2 separate regions of the Homo sapiens genome follow, and region 2 is linked to region 1. The links are contacts of gene promoters, found by promoter capture Hi-C in human tissues and cell types (Jung and others, 2019). All regions are on one chromosome and are shown on one strand. The core of a region is centred on a gene start or on the middle of the fragment in contact, and the rest is flanking DNA. Distances in the headings are between cores, read along the strand shown. Region 1 holds the start of ADAM33 (ADAM metallopeptidase domain 33). Region 2 overlaps ATRN (attractin).

Region 1 (4,337 bases), core at 483-2,982:
CTCACAGGCCCGCCCTGCAGGAGCCAGGCCCCAGGCACCCAGAGCCTGCAGCAGCCCTCCTTCCCCCGGTACCCAGTCCCAGCTCCCAGAACAGACAGCCTCCCCCCTCCACGCAGCCCTGGCCTCAGTCCTGCTGGGCTGATGGCTGCCTGTGGAAGTGACTCAGCTCCTGCTAGGCCACCCCAACTCCTTTTTTCTCCTCCACCTTCTCTCCCAGACTACAAACATCAAAGACCCTTCCTCCAAGAAGCCCTCCTTGATTGGATGAGTGAATTGCCATCAGGCAGATGAGGGCCGAGAGGAGTCTGCCACCTTGGAAAGGAGGCTAGAGGGGCCAGTGCAGGGAGGGCTCTGAGTGGATGTGGGGGAGGGGAAGGAGGGGAGGTCTCTCAGCCCAGAGAGCACTTAACTGAGAGTAGAGAACCAAGCTTTGCTGCTCCTAGGCCTCTAAGGGTTTGGGGAAGAGGTAGGGTGGGCCCGGGCACAGGTGTGGTGTGGGTGCAGTGTGGTGTGTGGGTGCTGTCCACATGGCCTTGCGCGCACGTGCTGGCCACGGGCACCCTGACCCCAATGAGGGAGAGAGGGGCAGAGCTGGAGCTGGAGCTGGAGCTCCGGTGACCGGGTGAATGGGGGTGGAACCCGAGGGAGCCAGGCTGGTATTGGGCACATAGACGCCCCTCTCCCAGGGGTCCCATCACCTCCCCTGACCCCAGGATAGGGCTCAGAGGGGAGGGAGCAGTGGACCGCCTGGGGCCCTCCCCTGGGGCCAGAACAGACCAGGCCCCTGTACCTGTTTGGTCCCCACACAGTGCTGTGGAAGCCACCGCCCAGTCTGCATAGCACAGCCCAGCCCCGCATGCCCCCTCCCTGGTTGCCCTCCCTGTTCCCGGCCAGGCACTTGCTGTGCAGGACTGGCTAATCCTCCCACCCGCTTGCAGAGGTTGTTCCAGCCCCATCTTAACATCTTTGTTTGGAGGGGTTACCCCGAGGAGACAGCTGCAGTCTTCCCAGAGCACTGCTAAACAGACACCTTCTATCTGGAGAGGCCCTTCTCTATCTCACCAAACAAGGCAACAATATAAACAACATACACACTGCCCTGCTGCCCTGGGAGGAGGGACGAGGGGTGAGCAGGGTGGAGGCCACAGCTAGTTCTGCAGCCTGAGAGCAAAGCAGGGACTCTGGGGGACTCTTGGGCATGGGGGCTTCCTAGAGGACGGAGCCCCGCTGAGTCCTAAGGGGTGGAGGAGCAGGAGCGGGTCACACGGTGGCCTGCGGATGGAAGCTGGTTGTGAGAGCGAGAATCCAGGAAGAGGGGGCTACGGCTATGGGCTGGGGGCTGGGCTGCCCCCGAGGGGGAGGGAGCCATGCCCTCTGCTTTGCCAGCGGAGTGGCAGCCGGGCAGTGTGGGCAAGTCCGGGCCCGGGGCCAGCCCAAGCACACTTGAGCGTCCCTGGGCAGGTCCCACGGAGACCCCCCCAAAGAGTCCCCACGCCCTGACCTACTGGCCGTATGGTGCCGGGGCCGTGAGACCCTCCGCGCGCTGACCCGAGCTCTGAGCAGAACCCATCCCCGCCACCACCACCGCGCCTAGCCTGCCCCTCAGGGCGCACCCCGCCCGCGTCCTCACCTTGAAGCACCCCGGCGCCTGGCACTGGCCAGAGCAGCAGCAGTAGTAGCAGCAGCAGCAACGGGGTCCCCCGAGCTCTCCGGGGCCTCCAGCCCATAGCTGTGAGCTCCTCGGCCTCTAGGCAGCGGCTCGCAACTCCGGCTCCGCCCAGGCTGGATTGCGGCCGACCCGTGCCCGGTGCAGCCTCAGGCCGCCGCCTTCGGACCTTCCCGCCCCCACCTCCCACCGCCCGCCCTCGCTCCCGCCTCCCCTCCCCGCCAACCCCGCTCGGAGCCTGGCCAGGGGCCCCGACGGCGCGCGCCATGGGGGAGCCGGGTCGCCACTCCCGGACCGCCGCCCCTCGAGGGGGTGGAGCTGGGCGGAGGAGGGAATCCGTGCGGCCCCTCGGATGACCGGCCCGAGCCGTCCCTCCCCGTCGGTCTCAGAGGGCCTCTACTCCTGAGAGGAGGAGAGAACCGCTGGGAAGGTTCTTGGAGGACCGCGGCGTGGTGGGATGAGGCGGTGGGCAAAGGCCGCCTCTCGCTGCTGAAGTTGGCCCCAGGAGCGCGATCTTCCGTGGTCTCCTGGGGCCGATCTCTGTCCCCTCCTTGCTACCCGTCCTGCCCCGAGGGTGCCCTGGCGGAGGTTGAGTCGGGTCATCCACCTGCACTGGGTGCCCCCAAGGATAGGAAGGTTCAGGCAACCGGCTGCCGCTGTCTTGGGGGCTTCATTGCTGGGCAAAGGCGATGCAGCAGACGGAGACAACCTTTCTTCCCTGGCGGTGGCCAGAGGGCAGAATTGCATAAAAGCTGCAGACTCCCAGGCCTGGGAGACCCTTTCGGCCTCAGTAACATCTGTTTCATGTTTTAAACTTTTGTTTTCCTACTCGGTGCAAATTTGGATGAGATGTTAACTTTTTTTTTTTTTTTTTTTTTGAGATGGAGTCTCCCTCTGTCGCCAGGCTGGAGTGCAGCGGCGCGATCTTGGCTCACTGCAACCTCCGACTCCCTGGTTCAAGCGATTCTCCTGCCTCAGCCTCCCGAGTAGCTGGGACTACAGGCGCGCGCTACCACCCCCAGCTAACTTTTGTATTTTTAGCAGAGACGAGGTTTCACCATTTTGGCCAGGATGGTCTCAATCTCCTGATCTCGTGATCCACCCGCCTCGGCCTCTCAAAGCGCTGGGATTACAGGCATGAGCCACCGCGCCCGGCCGGAGATGTTAACTTTTAAGCAAATCTTTTTTTTTTTTTTTTTTTTTTGAGACAGAGTTTCTCTCTTGTTACCCAGACTGGAGTGCAATGGCATGATCTGGGCTCACTGCAACCTCTGCCTCCCAGATTCAAGTGATTCTTCTGCCTCAGCCTCCCGAGTAGCTGGGATTACAGGCATTCGCCACCACGCCTGGCTAATTTTGTATTTTTAGTAGAGATGGGGTTTCTCCATGTTGGTCAGGCTGGTCTCGAACTCCCGACCTCAGGTGATCTGCCCGCCTCGGCCTCCCAAAGCGCTGGAATTACAGGCGTGAGACACCGCACCCAGCCTACTTTTAAGTAAATCTATTTGTTTTTGAGAATTTGGAATGTAGTAATTTGGTTAGTGAAAGTTCGAGCAGTGAGAGAAACCTACATTCACATATCTCAAAATCAAAAAGTACAGAAAGCATAGGGAAAAGTCTCCGTGCTCTTAGCCCTCCTCACCAACAGGAAACCAATATGATTAGTTTCTTTCATAGGCTTTTAGATTATTTTTTCACACTCAAGACAATACAGACATATTTTTTTCTCTTATTAACGTTTTTCTGCACTTTGATTTTCTTTTTTTTTTTTTTGGTCGCTTAATACACCTTAGATATCAGTGCGTTTAGAGGGTCCTTGTTGTTCTTATGATTATTATTTAGAGACAGGGTCTCACTCTGTCACCCACGCTAGAGGACAGTGGCCTGATCATGCCTCATTGCAGCCTTGAAATCCTGGGCTCAAGGTATCCTCCCACCTCAGCCTCCTGAGTAGCTGGAACTACAGGCACACGGCACCAGGCCCAGCTAAAATTTTTAATTTTTCTGTAGACAGGGGGGTCTCACTTTGTTTCCCAGGCTGGTCTCAAACTCCTGGTCTTGGCCAGGCGCAGTGTCTCATGCCTGTAATCCCAGCACTTTGGGAGGCCGAGGCGGGCAGATCACTGGAGGTCAGGAGTTCAAGACCAGTCTGGCCAACATGGTGAAACCCCATCTCTACTAAAAATACAAAAATTAGCCGGGCATGGTGGTGAGTGCCTGTAGTTCCAGCTACTTGGGAGGCTGAGGCAGGAAAATCGCTTGAACTCAGAAGGTGGAGGTTGCAGCGAGCCGAGATCATGCCATTGCACTCCAGCCTGGGCAACAAGAGCGAAACTCCGTCTCAAAAAATAAAAATAAAAATAAAAAGAACTCCTGATCTTAAGTGATCCTCCTGCCTCAGCTTCTCAAATCGCTGGAATTACAGGAGTGAGTCACCACAGCTGTCCAGCTACGAGATTATTACTTATTATTACTACTTTGGATTTTCAAATCAACTTCATTAAGGTATAATTTACACACAATAAAATGCACTTATTTTAAGTGGCCAGTAAGATGAGTTTCGATAAGTGTATATAACTACATAAGCATCACTATAATGCAGACACATTCCCTCACTCACAGAAAGAGCCCTGTGCCCTTCCAGCCAAACTTGCCCACTCCCAACCCCAGA
Region 2 (4,112 bases), core at 1,047-3,546, 120 kb before region 1:
TGTTAGAACCTTCCAGTAGCTTTGTATTCCTTTCTTTTCCCAGGATTTTGTAGTCCAGCTCCTCTTCCTGAGTTATCACTTGTCCAGTGGGCCCAGGTGTCAGGTTTATTTGTGAAGGTGACAAGTGCCCCCCTACATCCATGGTGGATTTAGTGAGCATCTCCAAACTGGATTATGTCACAAATAAAATAGTATGAGATGTTCTGTCTTATTAGTTGGGTGAAAATATGATCTGTTTGTTTTGTAGGTATGACCTTGCTTCTAGGGAGTGGCTTCCACTAAACCGTTCTGTGAACAATGTGGTTGTTAGATATGGTCATTCTTTGGCATTATACAAGGTAAAGCATCTCCACTCTGTGCTAAGCAAGAAACTAAGTTTTCCTCAGTTACTTCATGTATTACATAGTTGAAAAGCTACCTCAGTGTTGGTTTTTAATTGGGGAAAACTTTTTATTGGGGGCATTATATAATTGGCTAAGTTATAAGTAGAAATTAAAATGGAAACTTTTTTAACTCAAGAGATTTTAATGGCTTCAAACTGTAATGGGGTATTATAATAATGGCACTAAATGGTTAAAGATGTAGATTAAAAAGTGTAGATTAGCTTTTATTCTCATAAGCAAGTTTAGCCAAGAATAGCCACATTGTAATGTGGCTGAACAAACATTTTCATTTCCTCATTTTTATAGATAGATGGTAGGATGAGGCAACTTTATTTTTCCAAGTCCTTTTATACTATAAAAGATTCATGTGAGGAAGTCCAAGAAAACTGGTGAAGTATTAGAGATGTAAAATATGATTAGTTTTATTTCCCTTTTCCCTTTTTTTATCCTTTTCCTAGTAACTCACTGAAAGGCGCCTTTTGCTAACCCTTAAAATTTTTTTTAATTTATTTTTTACTGAGGTAAAATATACGTATATAATGGTACCATCTTTACCATTTTTAAGTGTACAGTTTGGTGGTAATAAATATATTTACATTCTTTTTTTCCTTCTTCATTCTCCCCCACCAGCCTGCCAGCCTCTGGTAACCACCAGTCTACTCTCTATCTTCATGAGATCCACTTTTTTAGTTCCCACATATGATTGATAATGTGATATTTGTCTCTGTGCTTGGCTTATTTTACTTAACATAATGACCTCCAGTTCAGTCCATGTTGCTACAAAATGACTGGATGTCATTCTTTTTAACGGCTGAATAATGCTCCATTGTGTATATATACACCACATTTTCTTTATCTAATTATCCATTGATAGACACGTTGATTCCATGTTTTGGCTATTGTCAATTGTGCTGCAATTAACATGGGAGTGCAGATATCTCTTTGATATGTTCATTTCCATTCTTTTGGATATATACCCAGTATCGAAATTGTTGGATCATAGGGTAGTTCTATTTTTAGTTTCTTGACTAACCTTTTTTAAGCTGAGAATAATATTGAGCTTTTGTTCTTCTCTGTTCTCAGATTTAATCTTTTCAATGTTTTTAAAAATTTTGTTTGCATTTTTTTCCTAGGATAAAATTTACATGTATGGAGGAAAAATTGATTCAACTGGGAATGTGACCAATGAGTTGAGAGTTTTTCACATTCATAATGAGTCATGGGTGTTGTTGACCCCTAAGGCAAAGGAGCAGTATGCAGTGGTTGGGCACTCTGCACACATTGTTACACTGAAGAATGGCCGAGTGGTCATGCTGGTCATCTTTGGTCACTGCCCTCTCTATGGATATATAAGCAATGTGCAGGAATATGATTTGGGTAGGTATATTTTTTCCAGTAGATGCCTTTTGAACATCAGATTTAAAACCTCTAAGCTTATTATTTTGACTGTTTAGAAAAGTTCAACCTAATCTTGATTCGGTACTTTATCTTGAAACATAGTAAACACTGGGCCCAGGCGTGGTGGCCCACTCCTGTAATCCCAGCACTTTGGGAGGCTGAGGCGGGCGGATCACCTAAGGTCAGGAGTTCAAGACCAGCCTGGCACCAACATGGTGAAACCCTGTCTCTACTAAAAATACAAAAATTAGCCTGTCCTGGTGGCGGGCACCTATAATCCCAGCAACTCAGGAGGCTGAGGCAGGAGAATCGCTTGAACCCGGGAGGTGGAGGTTGCAGTGAGCCAAGATTGCACCACTGCACTCCAGCCTGGGGGACAGAGTGAGACTCCGTCTCAAAACAAACAAACAAACAAACAAACAAAAGCAACATAGTTAACATTGATGTATTACCAGTGAAATGCAGATTATCGATGCTCCTATGTAGTATGTATTTGTTACTGTCAATTTGGTAAGGAGCCAAAGATGACGCAAAGTGCTTTGGGTATTTAAAATAAATAAATAAAAATGGTTCAAAACAATAAATATTGAAGAAAAAAAATATTTGCCCAGCCCTTTAGAGATTGGTTTAGTGGAGTATGATTTACCCTTAATATGAAATATTTCCCTTGGTTAAATTTCATTGTATCTGTTGTTGTGCAGTAGGAATACCAGGTATAATTAACATTTTGTGAAAGTAGGCCTATAAAATATATCTGTATATTGGTCACCAAAGGTTGTAGGGAATTAAATGTTCATTTGAGTGAACATTTTATTTATTGAGACAGGCTCTTGTTCTCTCACACAGGCTGGAGTGCAGTGGCACAATCATAGCTCACTGCAGCCTTGATGCCCTGTCCTCAAGTGATCCTCCCACCTTAGCCTCCCTAGTAGCTGGGACTACAGGTGCGTGCCACCACTCCTGGCTAATTTTTTAATTTTAGTAGAGATGGGATCTTGCTATGTTGCCCAGGCTGGCCAACATAGCAGGCCTCAAGTGATCCTCCCACCTTAGCCTCCCAAAGTGCTGGGATTACACATGTAAGCCACTTCGCCTGGCCCTGAGTGTTTTAAATTTAGTTAATTCTTTTCCTACATGGCATATTAGAACATCAGAACATAGAACAGACTGGAATTGGGCCACATGGCTTTGTTATAAGTTTTAGGTGGCTTTCTTTAAAATATAAAGATAAAAAAGTATATGTATCAGGTCTCCTGAAATCCATTCTCATGCCCTAAGCTCTTTGGACATTTTCAGTAGTAGAGAGGAGGAGCCTGCCATGCTTGCCTTTAACTGTCTTTCCTTTCCAGATAAGAACACATGGAGTATATTACACACCCAGGGTGCCCTTGTGCAAGGGGGTTACGGCCATAGCAGTGTTTACGACCATAGGACCAGGGCCCTATACGTTCATGGTGGCTACAAGGCTTTCAGTGCCAATAAGTACCGGCTTGCAGATGATCTCTACCGATATGATGTGGATACCCAGATGTGGTGGGTACTTTTTCTTGAGCTTTCACTTTAAGGTGTAAATTCTGTAGAGGCAATTGTGGAGAAAATATTGTGCTATCTTTTTGTTTTCATGCCTGGCAGATAATTCTGTTCGGCATTATATATAGAGAAATTGGGAAATAAACAGAGGGTAATAAAGTAGCTAGTATTTATTTTGTTACGTTATTCTGTAATTCTGTAGCAGGTTGGTTAGAAAATACTTAGAGTTTTTTAACAAATGTAAAGCAAATTTGAGTTACGAAATAATGTAATTATAAAGCGATGGTTTCTCCTCTTTTTCCTCACATGTTTGATACCTTGCTATGGGTACTGTTTTATATTCTGTCATAAAAATAATCATTTTTAGTAGCTGTGCAATACTCCATTTTGTGGGTATGCTGAGACTATGCAGGTGAAAGTTTTGGTTTCTTTCTAGTTTTTATGTCATTAAGAAACCATTATGCATTAAGCTTCTGTCAATATTTCACATGATTTCTGCCCAGAAACTGGAATTATATAGCTACGGGGTATGAAGAGTTTAAGGTTCTTAATATATTTTGCCAAAACTCTTACAGGTCTTTAAAATTATCTGTATTTATTGTTGAAAAACTTACTTTTATGTAGGGAAAACTCTGGAAGGATTTGTACATTTGGGTCTGAGGTTAATAAAGTGGTTGTGCTTGCATTAGCAGATACATAAATATTCTTTAAAAACTAACCTTGTATTTATTATTTCTAAATAAACTCAAAAGGACCATTCTTAAGGACAGCCGATTTTTCCGTTACTTGCACACAGCTGTG

What was found. The method cuts DNA at HindIII sites, captures the fragments that hold promoters and counts their contacts. A contact is called where the count stands out against the background at its distance.
Region 2: a fragment that was not itself captured here is called in contact with the fragment with the promoter of ADAM33 in region 1 in 3 of the 25 tissues and cell types used here (dorsolateral prefrontal cortex, lymphoblastoid cells and mesenchymal stem cells).

Annotation. Positions count from the first base shown.
Region 1 is chr20:3,680,278-3,684,614 of GRCh38, forward strand. ADAM33 (ADAM metallopeptidase domain 33) reads right to left here and starts at 1,733. Exons shown (of 22, transcript NM_025220.5): 1 at 1,631-1,733. The coding sequence starts at 1,727. RefSeq lists an enhancer at 1,158-2,051. The HindIII fragment of the contact is 20,528 bases long and covers 1-4,337 here.
Region 2 is chr20:3,559,146-3,563,257 of GRCh38, forward strand. It overlaps ATRN (attractin), which reads left to right. Exons shown (of 29, transcript NM_139321.3): 7 at 248-338; 8 at 1,517-1,760; 9 at 3,131-3,314; 10 at 4,064-4,112. Among named protein-coding and RNA genes, the nearest start is that of ATRN, 90 kb to the left of the region's middle. The HindIII fragment of the contact is 4,783 bases long and covers 1-4,112 here.